2 separate regions of the Homo sapiens genome follow, and region 1 is linked to region 2. Evidence: promoter capture Hi-C in 16 types of primary human blood cells and fetal thymus (Javierre and others, 2016). All regions are on one chromosome and are shown on one strand. Each heading gives the region's core, a stretch centred on a gene start or on the middle of the fragment in contact. The rest is flanking DNA. Distances are from core to core; before and after follow the strand shown. Region 1 holds the start of RAE1 (ribonucleic acid export 1). Region 2 holds the start of STX16-NPEPL1 (STX16-NPEPL1 readthrough (NMD candidate)).

What was found. The method cuts DNA at HindIII sites, captures the fragments that hold promoters and counts their contacts. A CHiCAGO score of 5 or more calls a contact.
Region 1: a fragment that was not itself captured here is called in contact with the fragment with the promoter of STX16-NPEPL1 in region 2 in 1 of 17 cell types (total B cells); the score reaches 5.4 in total B cells.

What each region holds. Positions count from the first base shown.
Region 1 is chr20:57,350,376-57,358,221 of GRCh38, forward strand. It overlaps RAE1 (ribonucleic acid export 1), which reads left to right and starts at 880. Exons shown (of 12, transcript NM_003610.4): 1 at 880-1,047; 2 at 3,657-3,753; 3 at 4,337-4,441; 4 at 6,071-6,163. The coding sequence starts at 3,664. It also overlaps the pseudogene MTND1P9. RefSeq lists enhancers at 511-1,079, 1,270-1,349. The HindIII fragment of the contact is 1,499 bases long and covers 3,856-5,354 here.
Region 2 is chr20:58,645,675-58,653,052 of GRCh38, forward strand. STX16-NPEPL1 (STX16-NPEPL1 readthrough (NMD candidate)) reads left to right here and starts at 5,579. Exons shown (of 23, transcript NR_037945.1): 1 at 5,579-6,464. It overlaps STX16 (syntaxin 16), which reads left to right and starts at 5,609. Exons shown (of 9, transcript NM_001001433.3): 1 at 5,609-6,464. The coding sequence starts at 6,333. It overlaps LOC107985410 (a long non-coding RNA gene), which reads right to left and starts at 3,961. Exons shown (of 3, transcript XR_005647058.2): 1 at 3,315-3,961. RefSeq lists silencers at 1,819-2,113, 4,512-4,871 and enhancers at 2,801-3,338, 6,368-6,637, 6,475-6,978. The HindIII fragment of the contact is 2,998 bases long and covers 3,228-6,225 here.

The DNA.
Region 1 (7,846 bases), core at 3,355-5,854, 1.3 Mb before region 2:
CTGGCATCATTTTCCCCACCATGCAGCAGGAAACTGAGGCCCAAAGAGCCCCGAGGTGGGCTCAGGGTACCCCAGTGGGCAAACAGGGAGAGGCCAGGGCGGGAAACCCGCGGCCGACCTCGCCTTGTTCGGAGGCAGCGTTAGAGCAGCTTCTCGGAGGTTGGCCTTGGACGTGAATTGGAAGCAATCAGAATCTTTTAGATGTTTATACATGATAAATGCAATAATTAATTCACAAGAGAAAACAGCTAGCTACCTTGCACTAGCCCTAGTTGCGGATTGATTGACTGATTTGAGATGGAGTTTCGCTCTTGTTGTCCAGACTGGAGTGCAATGGCATGGTCTCGGCTCACTGCAACCTCCACCTCCTGGGTTCAAGCGATTCTCCTGCCTTAGCCTCCCAAGCAGCTGGGATTACAGGCACCCGCCACCATGCCCGGCTAATTTTTGTATTTTTAGTACTGACGGGGGGACGGGGGGGCGGGGGGGCGGGGGGACGGGGGGCGGGGGGGGCGGGGGGGGCGGGGGGACGGGGGCGGGGGGCGGGGGGGGGCGGCGCGGGGGGGCGGGGGGGGCGGGGGGCGGGGCGGTTCACGATGTTGGCCAGACTTGTCTTGAACTCCTGACCCCAGGTGATCAGCCCGCCTCGGCCTCCCAAAGTGCTGGGATTACAGGCGTGAGCCACCGCGCCTGGCCAGTTGCGGATTTATAAAAGCAGTCGCTTAGTAACTTGCAGCGGCTACATCAACTTTGGACCAATTCGCAAACTGCTGGTGTAAAGCGTTTTTGCGCATGTGCTGTCGCCTTGCGGGAAAAGGAGCCTTTTTCTTCGACGATTTCCGGGCGACGCAGGAAGTGGCTCCAGGGCGCACGCGCGTTGTTTCCGCGGTAGTCAGGGCAGTTTCTACCGCAGGCTTAAGGAGGCTTCGGGCTCCTGGGATTTCTGTCCGCGCTCCTGGCCCTCGTCCTTCGCGCCAGAGCAGGTTCGCAAACTCCTCAGACCCTTCTGCTCCCGGCCGCCGCTTTCCGCCGGGGCGAGACCCCCAGGTAGGCCCCGTGCCGCGCGCGTCCCGTCGTTAACCGCCGCCATGGCTCCCGCAGAGGCCGAGTTGCCTCCCGGGAGCGCGCTTCTGCGGGATGCTGGGGCGCGAGCGGGACTGTTGACTAAGCTTCGTTACTGGGCCCTGGAAGCGAGGTCAGAGCTGGAAATGGCCTTAGGGGTCACCTAGGGCCTAATCCATCGTTTCTCTTGTGGGGGAACTGAGCCTCTGGGAAGGGTCACATTGCGTTAATGCAGTGTGTGTCGCCTCTGTCCCTCCCCCTTACACGTCTGGCGTCTCGTCAGATACATGTCAGCTCCTGGGAGAAGCTTTCCCTGGCCGCTTTGCAGAAGGGCGTCCCCTTTTAGCCTCTTCCACGTCAACCTGCTCCATTTCTTTCGTAGCAGTTACCAGTCTCTGAAACTAAGTCTGTTTCTGTCTTAGCCCGCCAAGTATTTATTGTATACGTATATAGGTGCCACCGTACAGGCAGTACTTCTCCAGGCAAGTAGTATTAAACACCAGCCGCCCTGGGCCAGGCATTGTACTGTGGGACCCAGTATGCATTAAGGGAAGAATCCAGGCAAGTGGCTGCCCTCTTGGAGCCAGCATTCTGGGGGGGAAGAGATTTTGAGTGTAAACAAGAAATTCCAGGGGATGTGATGGAAGATTAGATATGTTAAAGTTGGCAAAGAAGCGTCTGAGGAGGTGACTTTAAAAAAGAATACGTGTGACAGCTTTATTGAAGTATAAAATAACATTAATTTCAACCATTGAAAGTGTATATTGTGAGTTTGGAAATTTTATGCAGTTGCGTAAACATGGCAAGTTCAAATTTGGGACATTTTCATCACCCCAAGAAGTTCGGAGGAGGCAACTTTTGAACTGGGATATGAAGATTCAAACGGAGGTAGCTGTGGGGAGGGAGAAGCAAATCATCCCAAGCTGAAGGAACAGCACTAGGTTTGCTCCAAGGCAGGGATGAGCTTGTTGTGTTCAGCGGAGAAAGGAAGCCAGCAGAGCTAGGAGGGCTGGGGTGCAGCAAGGCGGGAGAGAGCGGGAAGAGATTAGGTGGGTCCCACAGATGACTGTGCCTTCTGAACTTTGGAAGCTTCCCAGTGCTCAGCATAAGGTGTGGTCCACACTGACTAACACGAACGATTCTCACCTACCATGTTCTTTTTCCTAAGTTCATCCCTAATGGCAGAAATGTTCTCTCCCAACTTGAAGGTTGAGGTAGAGGAATAGAGTGAAAGTAATATTTATTAAGAACCTGTAGTGCTTTAGGCAGTGTGTGTGTGTGGCTTCATTTAGTTCTCATAACTCTGTGAAGTAGATATTAGTGTCTCTGTTTTACAGATGAGAAAATCAAGGTTAAGTGACCCGTCCAAAGCCGTGTAACCAGCACCTGGACTGATTGCAGAAGCCTTGTCATGCCTTTGTTCGTTCATACAGCCAACTGGTGTTTCAAGTACCTCTGCATTTGAGGGCAGAAGTGTGGCCGGCAAGGACCACATCCCCTCACGTTCACTAAAATGTACATGTGCTTGTAGCTGTTGCTCTGACCTTTTGTTCTGCACTTATTTTTCATGAAGCTGAGGAAACTCAAATGCCTTCCCCAAATTCCTTGCAGTTTCTCCGTTCTGTGTTGTCTTGTTAGCAAGGATGTCACTCAGCCATTTGGCTCCCTTTGGAGAGGTGACTGGTATGGAGGACTTTTCAGCGTAACAGGTAGTAGGATTGAAATGTGGTTTCAGTGTACGTAACTCCTCGGGGAGTTGGAAGGAAAAAAGAAGGGAAAAGTCGTTTATTGTACCCACTATGAACTAGATACTGCATTTTCTACATAATCTGATTTGATCCCCAGAGCAGCCCTGGAGAATGTGTTAATGTTCTCTATGTTTGCAGAGCAGGAAAATGAAGACTGGTGAGATTAGAGTCCCAACTCCTGAGTGGCAAGAGGCCCTGACCAAACCCTGGTGGGCCTGTTAGATTATGATATTCAAGAAAAAACCCAGGGTGGGAGAGGTTCTTGCTGGGTAAATGTCCAAAACACGATGCCCGACCTTTTTAAAACTTTTACGAAGAAATTGCTGATTCGCTTCCCGGACTGGTTGTTCTAGGTAGTTTCATGCGGATGCTGACCTAAACTAGAATGTAGAAATTAGTAGGAAAGTGAATGCCCACTAGGTGGAAACCTGAAAGCACGGGGACCTGCGATCTTGTTTACTGTTATATTCCTGCTGCGCAGCTCAGGGTCTCTATGTAAAAAATGAGTGAATTTATTTTCTAGCTGGTGCCTACAAAATAATCTGCAATGTATCCATACTGGTTTATTAATGGTAACAAATGAACCGTACTAATATGAGATAATAGGGGAAACTAGATATGGAGTGTATGGGAATTCTATCTTTACTATTTCTGGAAACCTAAAACTACTCTAAAATAGAAGGTTTATGTTTTGAAAGCACTCTGCTCATTGCGCTCTTGTCTGAAAAGTGAAGCCTGGCCTCAAGCCACTTTGAGTATTTCTCTTCTGCCAGTTAATTATCTTACCATTGCCTCTCAGTGATATTAAGAGAAAACCCATCCTTAACATTTTTCATTACTTTTTAGGTTCAAAATGAGCCTGTTTGGAACAACCTCAGGTTTTGGAACCAGTGGGACCAGCATGTTTGGCAGTGCAACTACAGACAATCACAATCCCATGAAGGTACCACGAAAAGCTTCCTGGGGCTTGTAGGAAGAGTTTGGGCAGAGTTTCTCCCATCAAGGACAGAACCCGAGATGACTTGGGAGCCTCCTTTAGGCTGAAAGCTTTGAAACTTTGTCTAACTCATGTTTCTGAAACACTGGAGCACAGAAAATGTGTCCCCGTACTTGTGTCCTGTTCTTCCTGGCCTGCCAGGTCTCCAGAATCACCCAAGGTGCAGATTCCGGTGCAGATTCCCAGGGCCTGGCCCAGCCAGGACTGTTGACTCAGAATTCCCATGGTTGGAGAGAGGGGATGGCAGGTGAAAACTGTGATCTAGCACTGTGGGGCCAGAGTGAACTGGTCATTTAGAAAACAAGACCATGGGCATTTCATTAGCAGCTGCTACTGCTAGTCCTGGTGGTGCTGGTACTTTCTCTAGCTTATTTTTTACTCCTGTCTTTGATCAAAGTAAGGAAAGGTCTAATTCAGTTAGTTCTTGTACACAAGGAAAGGCCACCGTGAGGTAATTAGTGAGAAAGAAAACAATTTGGAATGAAGTTGTGAGCGTGCATACATTTTAACATTGACTTTTTTCCCGCAGGATATTGAAGTAACATCATCTCCTGATGATAGCATTGGTTGTCTGTCTTTTAGCCCACCAACCTTGCCGGGGAACTTTCTTATTGCAGGATCATGGGCTAATGATGTAAGTGCTCCTTAAATACGTGTTCTAGAAATCATCTCTCTTTGTATGGCCAAGGTTAGCTTTAGCTCCGTTGTTTCCCAAGTAAATGAATCAGTTGGACTTATTTATGGCCTTTTTTGAGAAATCAATTTAGGGGGTGTGAACCCTTCTGAATGGCAGACATTATTCTTACACCCGTTTTTGTTAGGAAAGCACAATCATATGTGTTGCTCGAAATTTTCTACTTTAGTTCAGTCTCTTGAAGTTTATTCCCAAATCAAATATCATATTCATCCAGAGTGAACATTATACCCAGTGGCACACACCAACAAATTCCCTTTCTTGGCATCCTGACAGTGTTCCTCAGGCATGTATGAAACTTTTTCAACGTTAAATAATAGCACAGATTTGCCTAGATACTTACTCATCATGTACAAAAAGAAAGACAAAAAAATTACAGTTTACTAAAAGAAAGAAAACTCTGGTAGAAAAATAAGCAAAGGGTGTAAAGAGGGACTTCACAAAAGAAAGAATAAACCTGAACCATTCATCCATGCTTGTAATCAGATAAATGCAAATTTAAGACTTTTTTTTATTAAATTAACAAAATTAAAAGTTTAAAAGAATAATAGTGCCAGCAAGGATAAGCTGAAACCCTGCATGTATGGCTGGTAGGTATGTAAGTTGGCTTTTCCACAGGATAATTGGCAATAGTTATCAAAAATCCTTCAGCTTATACCCTTTATCTCACTGATACCCTTCTGGGACTTGAGTAGGAAATCTGATAATGTACTTCATCTGCATTATCTAAATTAACCTTTATAACAGCCAAAGCACTGTGAACTTGTGAAAATTTTGAAAATTTTAATATCCAGTAGTAATGGCAATGTATAGTATGTTTGTATGATGGAATACCATTGTAAGTTTTTGGAAAAGCTTTTGAACTGTAGCCTACAGCACAGGGGCAGCAGGGGTTAGGAGAACAGGAGGGAGGATGGTAGTCAAGGTTGAGCAAGCTTGCTTTCTACATGTAATTTTTAGAAAGATTTCAGATTATTTGCTGCTTAAAAAAAGGATGTTTCAAGTTGAACAGGCTAGTGATGCAGGTGAGGAAAGCTGTAGCTGCAAAAGTGAAGACACTGTATAATCTAGTGTCTTCCAGAAAATATGCGTACATGGAAAGAAGACTAAGAGCACACAGAACCATTAGCTGTGGTTGTCTGTGGTGTGATTAGGGTGATTTTTATTTTTTTGCCATATTTACAAAATCTCTAAAATGTATTACTTTTTTAACGGAGGGGAGATTATATAAAGTATTCAGAAAAGAGGTAAGTTTCTACTTTGGTCTTGATTCTCTGAATGGTAATGGGTAAGTGATATTCTACTTTAAAAGACATATCTCATAGATGCATTGAGAAAATTATCTGCAATTTTATGTGTAAGCAATAGAATTTGTTTATTTTAATAGCTTAGGCGAAGAAAACAGTTGCTTTCATAGATATTTTAATTCCTTTGTTCTTGAAGTTAGATAATTAGGTTGCTATGAGAAGTCTATGTATGGTTAAGGTGTACCCCATTAGTTTTTAGGTGTTAAATGCAAGCAATACATCGTAATTGCTTTGTTTGCATTGAATTTTTTTGTTACTACAGGTTCGCTGCTGGGAAGTTCAAGACAGTGGACAGACCATTCCAAAAGCCCAGCAGATGCACACTGGGCCTGTGCTTGATGTCTGCTGGAGTGACGTACGTTCCCTTCCATTTCTCGTGTTCCATTTTACTTAAAGTACAGAATGATTTAGAATATTTAATAATCCAAACACAAATAGCATATATGTGTTCATATTGTAGGAATTCTAAGTTTCTGAACATAAATATAGTCATTTATTGATGTTCTTAATGTTGGCTTTAGTTAGCCACTTTCTTTGAAAGCTTTTCTTGTATTAAATTTTGTGTGTGTGATTGAGGAGAGTTTAATGATTAAGGGATAATTTATGAAGAAGCCAGCAGGGAAGGTGAAACACCGGTGCCAAGCTGCAGTGGGCGGGCCTCCTGGAGCACAGCATGAGCTGCAGCTGTAGAGGGGCTTCCACCTGGCGCGGGAGAGCCAGGGGATGAACAGCTGTAGACGGGCCTCGGCCTGGCGAGGGGAGCCAGGGGTTGAACACCCCAGCCTCTCTCCTCCCTTCTCCTGCCATTGCTGCTGGTGGCTGAACCCAACAGTAGTGAGAATGTTAAGGGGCCTGGTGACAGGCAGACACACTGCAGTGCTGAAGAAGCTAAGCCTTGAGGCCCCTTCCGAGGCCTTGTACCTGTTCCTTTAGTCAGGTTTATTGAGTCTGATTTGCCTGCTGTAAAACTGAACCTTTTTGGTATACAGCTCTGTGAGTGTTAAGAAATGCATAGAGTTGTGTTCTAGATATAGAACAGATCCATCGGCCTCCAAATTCTCTTCCTTCCTTTTGTCGTCAAATCCTTCCCAGCTCGCAGCCCCTGGAAACTACTCATCTGTTTTTTTTGTCCCTATAGTTTTGCTTTTACAAGAGTATCATCTAAATAAATCCTATAGGGTGCAACCTTTGCGCTCAGCATGTTGCATTAACGTATGGTGATTGTTTTGTCAGATATATTTCCTATGTTTGGGGTGGGATGCTGGAAATTAGGACAAGCATTGAGATATAGCATCTGCAAAATGCTAATGTAAGTGGTAGGAGTTTTCTCATAAAAGATGTACGAGTTGGTCTTAGCGGTATTGGGGTTATGCCATTCGAATTTGTAAGAAGAGAGTGGTTTAGAAGGGTCTTGGTAATTAAATTTGTGGTATAGAGTTCTGGTAAATATACAGTGTGTAGTGCTCCTAGGAAAATAGTAGTAGTTAGGGCATTTATTATGATAATATTCATGTATTCTGCTATAAAGAAGGGGGCAAATGAGCCTGCGGCATATTCGATGTTGAAGCCTGAGACTAACTCTGACTCTCCTTTTGTTAGATCAAAAGAGGCTCAGTTAGTTTCTGCTAGTGTGGGGATAAATCATATTATGGCTAGGGGCCATGATGATAGGAGCAGTCAGAGGAATTCTTGTGATGAGTATGTGTAAGTTAAATGAGCTGCTTATCAGTAGAACTGATAGCTGGATAATAGCTAGGGTGACTTCATATGAAATCGTGTGGGCCACAGCTCATAGTGCGCTGATTAGTGCATATTTTGAATTAGATGCTCATCCTGATCATAGAATAGATAGACGGCTAGGCTTGATGTGGCTAGTTTAAATAGGAGGCCTACATTAAAATTAGAGGATCTGGTATAGGGAGGGGGGTTCATAAGAGGAGAGCGATAGAGAGGGCTAGGATTGGAGCAATAATATAAAGGGTGATAGTAGATGTTAAGGGCCGCGAGGGTTCTTTGGTGAAAAGTTTTATTGCATCAA
Region 2 (7,378 bases), core at 4,329-6,828:
TCAATACCTGCTAGCGGAAAAACACAATGATTTCCTTTATGTTTTTCAGGGTTTGAGTCATCCAGGTCAGTCCTGGCTTGGCACATTAACTTATTGTTCCTGCCAAGGGAGATGGTTAAGATGGGAGGGTTGATTTATTTGAGTACACATGTGTCCACATCATCCTGGAAAAAAAGTAAAATGCAGATATGCTTTGCTGGCATGTGTTGTGACCCAAGAGGCCTCTTCTTGGCCTCAAAGACCAAAAGCCACGATGTTAGACATTGTTTCAGTCTTGAACTTGACCAAGCATGGGCAGGCACCTGGTATGATGGTGACATAAGGGCCCTGGGAGAGGAGAGTCCTCTCCCCACACGGTGGACAGGGTAGGAGGATTACTTTCTATTGAATAGTCTGAGACAAGAGTGGTGAGAAGGAGCCAGTTATTTGAAGAACCTAGGAAGGAGAGCAAAGCAGGTGCTAAGGAGGTGTGAGGAATGGTGGGAAGGCTAGTGTGGCTGAAAAGGGGTGAGCGAGGGGGACAGAGAACTGCCCTAATCTCTCCACCCATTTTGAGTCTTGACTGTCTGGTATTCTCTAGCACTTAATATAGTTAATCTCACCTTTTGTGCATTAATCCATCCAGTCATCCATTCCGCAAACATTTATCACACCTGACAGTGTAGGGGGTGCTGTCTTCAATGAAGGGTTCACCAAGCAGAAGGGGCAAGACACATCCCCCGCCACTACCCCCACCAGGCAGAGAAAGGCCTGTGAGCCAAGTCCTGGAAAGAAAAAAGCTCACCATTTAGGTGGGGCCTGTTGGGCAGGGCTTTGAATGCCCAGGGGGCACTCCGCCATGTGGAAAGTGTAGAAAACCTAAATGCAGAACTCCAGGAAATACTGATCTATGGGAAAAAAATTGTACTGAAATCCATGATTCTGGAATAAATCAGATCTAGTCTTATACTATATTCTAATACAGCCAAGTGGTGGCAGGGACTGAAGGTTTAAGAGAAAGCGAGAAGAGAAACACTTAAGATGGAGACTACTCCATTAATTAGCTTCATTTTTTTTTTTCTGACAACCAAGAAAAGTCCATCATTAGTTAATATTAGTGATGCCCAGCTTGGTTCAACTTAGAGCACCTGTTTTCTGCTGAGCGTCATTTGAGATCGGCTGGCATGGGCCAGAGGGAGCTGTTTCAGGGCCTCAATCAGGCAGTGACATGATCAGATTTATGCTTTGGAAAGGTCACTGTGGCTGCAGGATGAGGAGGGAAGAGACGGGTGGTTGTTAGCAGGCTGCTGGGAAAATGTACACGATGAGAACCAGAATTTGGGTAGAGACAGTGGAGATGCAAATTCCCTGAAGGCAAGAGTTTTGCTGTTTCATTCTTTCAGCAGTGCCTGGCAAGAGATAGGCACAGCCACTGGTAGATTTTTAGAAATGCCTACTGTATTGAATTGTCTGGTATTAAAAGCTACGGGACTCCAGACAAAACAAAAGTGTTGCCTCTCTCCAGAGTCTCCCTTCTTGGGAGAGGCATCATAGCTGAAGACAGACCCAGATAGGGAGTTTTCTGTTGTTGGAAATACTCAAGGTTTTGAGGAACTATTTGGGGACACAGAACACACAACTCCTGTTACCCGAACCTGGCCCGAATCTGTCTGTCAGATCTGTGCAGACGAGACATATGTTAGGCCTGGGGGCTTTTGCTGCTTGATAAGCAAACAACCATCTGTCTTTCTATAGGTGGGAGAAAGACCAATGTTAAAAGGTGTCTTTGAGATGGTTTAGCCCCCTCTTCCACATGAGTGTGCACTGCAGACACATCTGGATTCCCAAGGTCCAGAACAAGAAGCTCGGAAACGTGCTTAGATTTCCAAGTGTTCAGTTCTCAATACCATGCCATTCTCTTTGGAGTTTATGATGCCTTCCAGGGAGAGCAGAGCCCACGTGAGCTTTCCAACAGTAAGACTACTGCTGTAATAAATCATATTGCCCATTTGTGGCGCACTTACTCTATGCTGAGGTTGTATAAGGGCTTACATGAGCCCTATCTCATTTAAATTGTTTTCACCAAAGGGTGTGTGTCCCACTGCTGACCTGTTGAGCTAACCATCCCCTCTCAGTACTTGAAAACCTGCACCTGCCCAAGCCATGGCCTGGCTTCAATGGGGCTTCCTCCTGCACTGAATGAGATGACAAGAAAACAATGAAACACTTGTCCCCAAAAGTGACTTATTGGATTCGTTGGCAGAATGTTAGAAAGTGGGTATGAAGCCCAAGAAACAGGACACGGAGCCTCACCAAGCCCGAGGAGTATTACCGAATCCTAGCCCAGGCCAAGAATGAGTCACAATGAAAGCTTTTAAAATGTAAAACCATCAACCTAGATTTCAATTCCAAGGAAACACATACTTGGCCATGGGGGAATGCTTTAAAAAAAAAAAAAAATCAAGCTTAAGTCACTTGACAGGAAAATAAAACAGCCAAGGAACATTCAAATATAATGATTTACATCCTTCCCCAACTCCCTTCCAGTGTGGGTCAGGGCGAACATGGACCATGGACGTGACTGGAGCCAGGGGTGCATGCCCTCTCTGGGCTCCCTCTTGGTTAACACTATTTCAGGCACACAATCCCATACCTAAACACAGCCTGCTTAGAGCTGCACCGTGCTGCCTTTGGGGCCTGGTCAGAGCTGCACGGTGCTGCCTTTGGGGCCTGGTCAGAGCTGCACGGTGCTGCCTTTGGGGCCTGGTCAGAGCTGCACGGTGCTGCCTTTGGGGCCTGGTCAGAGCTGCACGGTGCTGCCTTTGGGGCCTGGTCAGAGCTGCACGGTGCTGCCTTTGGGGCCTGGTCAGAGCTGCACGGTGCTGCCTTTGGGGCCTGGTCAGAGCTGCACCGTGCTGCCTTTGGGGCCTGGTCAGAGCTGCACGGTGCTGCCTTTGGGGCCTGGTCAGAGCTGCACGGTGCTGCCTTTGGGCTGCTATGCCAACTTCTTGGATTTTCCTGACCTCCCCGCTGTTAGGCTCTTGGGTTGCTTGGGGTGGCTGTTTTGGGAATACCAGGATTTTTCTTCCATTATTTGTGTGCAAGCAGTGTTCATTTCGCTCAAAGAAATGGAAGCTTGATTGATCTCCTAAATGTAAGAATGAGATTGTCCTGTAATAAATATTTAAGACTGACCAGGAAAGGCGACCACCATCTGCTGAAACACAAGACCAGGAATTACTTTGCTAAGCTTCCTGAACGGAGGGAATGAATGAATAACCATCCTATATAATATTTGCTCAGCACCTGGTAGTTTACAAAGAGTTTTCACTTACCTTATTTGATCTTCACAATAACCCCAGAGAAGTAGACAGGGCGCGGATTACGAGGATTACGAAAAACCCACATTTTTTTCTTTTTTTCTTAACAGATAAGGGCTCTAAAGGCTTAAAGTCACTCGAGGGAGGTCAGAGAGTTTGGGGACTAAATCTCGAGTCTCTCATTAATTCATGCACATATTTAAAAAATATTTATCCGGAGCCTGTTCCAAGCCAGATGAGATGGCAGTGGGTACAAAGATGAATAAAACACTGTCCCTGCGTAGGAAGAAGATCACGTTCTAGCCTGGGGGAGAGCGCCAGGAAAAGTAAACAGGTCCCCCCCTGCTTTGTGAGGTGATGAGTGCTGGGGAGATAGGAAGAGAGTGGGGACCATGTTTCTAATCTGATTCTCCTACCGACGACCAGCTCAGTTGTTATTTACAAATACCTGTCCCCTAAAGGGGGGAGCGGGGTTGGGGGGGCTTGGCCGTGCTGCTGGGGTCAGAGCTCGCAGGGGGGTTCTGCCGCAGTGTGGGGACAAACTCTCCCTTATTGGGCAAATATTTCCCGGGGCGCTACGCTAAGCACACGGGCTCCCCGAATTTCCCTCCCCAGGGCCTCTCTGTCTTTGGATGGCCTGTCAGCAAGTCCCTGCAGCCTCCAGCCCGGCCCGCGCGGCGACCCAGTCCCCTGTCGCCCGAATCTTCCACCGCTGCGAAGCGTCCCCGGGCGAGCGCCCTGCTCTCCGCGCTGCGCGGAAGCCAGAGCCGGTCCTCACAGTGAACTCGCCCAGCCCTGCTCGCGGCTCTCTCGATTTTATGTGGGTTTCGTTGGATGCATTTTGTTATTTGCCTCAATGGATGTTTCACATTAATTTTTAGTTGCACAACGAACGCGCGGGAACATTCTCCGTGAGAGAAAAAGCACGGGTGGGGGGCGGTTACCGGTGCTTCCCCCGGTCGCCTGGGGGTCCCGCACGCGCCCCGCGGGTGCCGCTGTCTGGCTGGGGTCCCTGGGTGAGCCGCGGGCACCGGCTTCGCGTCTCCCCGGGCGCGACTCCGCTTTGCAAGCGCTCAGCACACGGGAAACCCTCGGAAAACACACACGTGTGTAAAGTTTGTTCCACGCAGAAACAAAGGACGCGTGGGGGCCGCTTCTGGGGCCTCGGTCCTTTGTTGGAACCCCGCACCGCAGCCCGGCCCGCAGCCTCGCCCCGCAAGGGGAAGCCGGCCCTGCACAGGCCCGGGGCCCGGAAGGCGCCGCCGCACAGCTCTGCGCCCCCGACCCGCTCCGGCCGCGCGCTGGGCCAGGCCCTTGGCCTCAAGCCTCCCGGGCGGCTCCGGGCCGGACCCGGGTCTCCGTCGCGGGACGCCAGCCTGTTTGTGGGTGCCGTGCTCGGGCCCGGGCGGCCCCTGCCCGACGCGGCCCCACGGAGCCCCTGCACGAACCCCGCCGACCTGGCCCGGGGCGGCAAGTCGAGGTGCTTAGGGCGCCCTGGGCCCGGCCAACCGTGGAAAACCCGGCCCGGGGCACGGGGGGGCGCGGGGGTCGCAGGGCCAGGGCCCAGGCAGGGAACAGAGATTTTTTTCGCGGGGAGGGGGGTGGGAGGTGTCAAAGTTTTCGGGGAACTTTTCCACTTGAGATTCCACGACCCTGCAGTGCCCCCTACAGAAAGCGGCAGCTGGGGAGGGCGGGCGCCCCCGACGACCCCCGACTGCCAGCGGCGGCGCGGCCAGGCTGCCTGGAGTTCTTGTTCCTTTTTTTTTTTTTTTTTTCCTTTTATTTCCTCGTGGTTGTTTGTCGGATACATCTTTTTCCAGAGTGGGAAAAAAAAAAAAAAAAGCGAGCGCCGCCGCCTGCAGTAGAGCGTGCTCGGCCTGCAGAGGCAGTCGTCTCCAACTTTTCCTCTCCCGCTCCAACTCCCCGCGCCCAAAACTTCAGTTCTTGGGGAGCCCAAATTTGCCTGCCGCGCAACTTCCACTCTAATTCAGCGACCAAGGGCCCTGGCAGCGGTTTGCAGCCTGGGGGCCACGCTCCCCAGGCTCAGGCCTGCTCGTTGGCCTGCTCCTAGTGCCTGGACCCAGTTGGGGGAGGCGAAACAGGGCGCCCGAGGAGCACCCCGGGAGAGGGCGGAGCACTCCCGTGCCCCGGGGCAGGAGTGCAGGGAGCTCCCGCGCCCGGAACGTTGCGAGCAAGGCTTGCGAGCGTCGCAGGGGGGCACTCGCGAGGGACGGACAGGAAGAGGGCCAGGGGGGAACGCCAGAACCCGGGACCACAGCACGGAAACGGTCCGGGGCTGAGCTGCAGTCAGATCCGGGGATGGAGGGAGCCGGAGAAGAGGAGTGAGAAGGCCGGGGAGGCAGGCCCTGCTGTCTTCCTGCAGGCCGGCAGCCTGCTGGCAGTGGAGGACCAGGCCGTCCAGGAAAGGAAGGGGTCAGGAGGTCGGGCAGGGCCTCAGCAGGTTCAGACAAGTCCCCAGAAGGGAGCTGCAGGCGCCCTCGAGTCCAGGCCCCAAGCCTGGCTCCGGTTGTCCAAAGAGGGCCTAGGCCAGGCCTCTGGTGCGGAAACTGAGTCACAGCCAGACCTCAGGGCACGGCCTAGACGCTTACGAGCCAAAGTTAGGGGTAGAGAGCAGAGACCTCCGGGGGGTCTCAGGGAGTAGGGGGCTTCAGGGCCTCCCAGTCTAGAGCCGGATTGGCGAGTTAGACGCTTGTAGATCCAAGGTTGGATTGGGGTGGGGTCTCTGGGACGTTGGATCGCTACGCAAGGATTGGGGGGATTCAAGTGCTTAGAGATCGAAGTCTGCCCTGGGTAGGGGGAGTCAGACAATTGGAAAGCCTAGGTAGTTATTTGGGGAGGGGTCTCTACGCCTTGGCGAAGCGCACAGCTGCATCTTTTTGGCTTGAGGCCTGAGGCCTTGTCGAGAAGCTTCCGTGAAAGGGTGGGCCAGCCGGGCCACGAGAAAGAAAGTGAATAAATCAGGAATATAAGTGGGCGGGGGGCCCCTGAGAGGGGGGTCGCAAAGGGTGAGACATGGCCACCAGGCGTTTAACCGACGCTTTCTTGTTGTTGCGGAATAATTCCATCCAAAACCGGCAGCTGTTAGCCGAGCAAGTGAGTAGTCACATCACCTCCAGCCCTCTGCATTCACGTAGCATTGCTGCGGTGAGTCTCCTGGCGGCCTCTCCGACACACGGACCGTGTGCACTGCGGCTCTGCCTGTTTGTCTGTCTCTGTCTGTCTCTCTGTTTAAAAAGAGAAGATAAGAATAATAAGACTAAGAATAATAAGATCTCTTGGCTAGAGTCAGGGGGCATCTGTAGCCCTGGATGAGGAAGAAGCGGTGCTGTGAGGCCGCAGCTCCACCTCTGCCCGGTCTTCTCCTCACTTCCGCAGCACCCCCCCCCCCGCACCCCCCGCCTTGGCGTCACTGCGCTACAGGCCGCCTGTAATTTACATATGTTTTAACGCTAACATTGGGAAGCATTGGGCCTTTCTGAAGCCTTTTTGTTTCGTTTTGTTTGAAGCTCCCCTCCCCCCAGTAATGAGCCTCAGTTTGGTCCTAAGGGCTGGGTCGCCGGATCGTAGACCCAAATCCTTGCAAAATGAACGACTCCCTCCCCTCAAAGAGGAGGGAGTTGTGTTGTTGTTTTGTTTTGTTTTGTTTTTCCGCCCGTTTTCTTTTAACGGCCCCGCAGCCCTCTGTGTGGCCTTGTTCCCTGTGAATAATTGCCTCACTGTTCTTCCTGGGGGCTTGCGTTTGTGAGACTCAAGGTGCTAGCCTCTTCACTTTCCATTTCCCAGACAGGAAATTAAGCTTTCCTCTCCATTCGAACTTTTTAAAAAAAGCCTGAGGAGGTATATGTGAAAATTAACCCCGTAAAATAGCACTTTTTTTTTTTAATTAACCACAACCTTTAGTTAGCCTAGCAGTAGCGTTTTTTAAGGGTGGTCCTGGAAAAATTACTGTTTGGGGTTTGTTTTTAATGGGGGCTACTTTTCCCTTTCTGAGCCTCAGTTTACTGCTCTGTTAAATAAGGGGCGAGTCTGGATGATCTATACCAGACAGTGATCGTTAG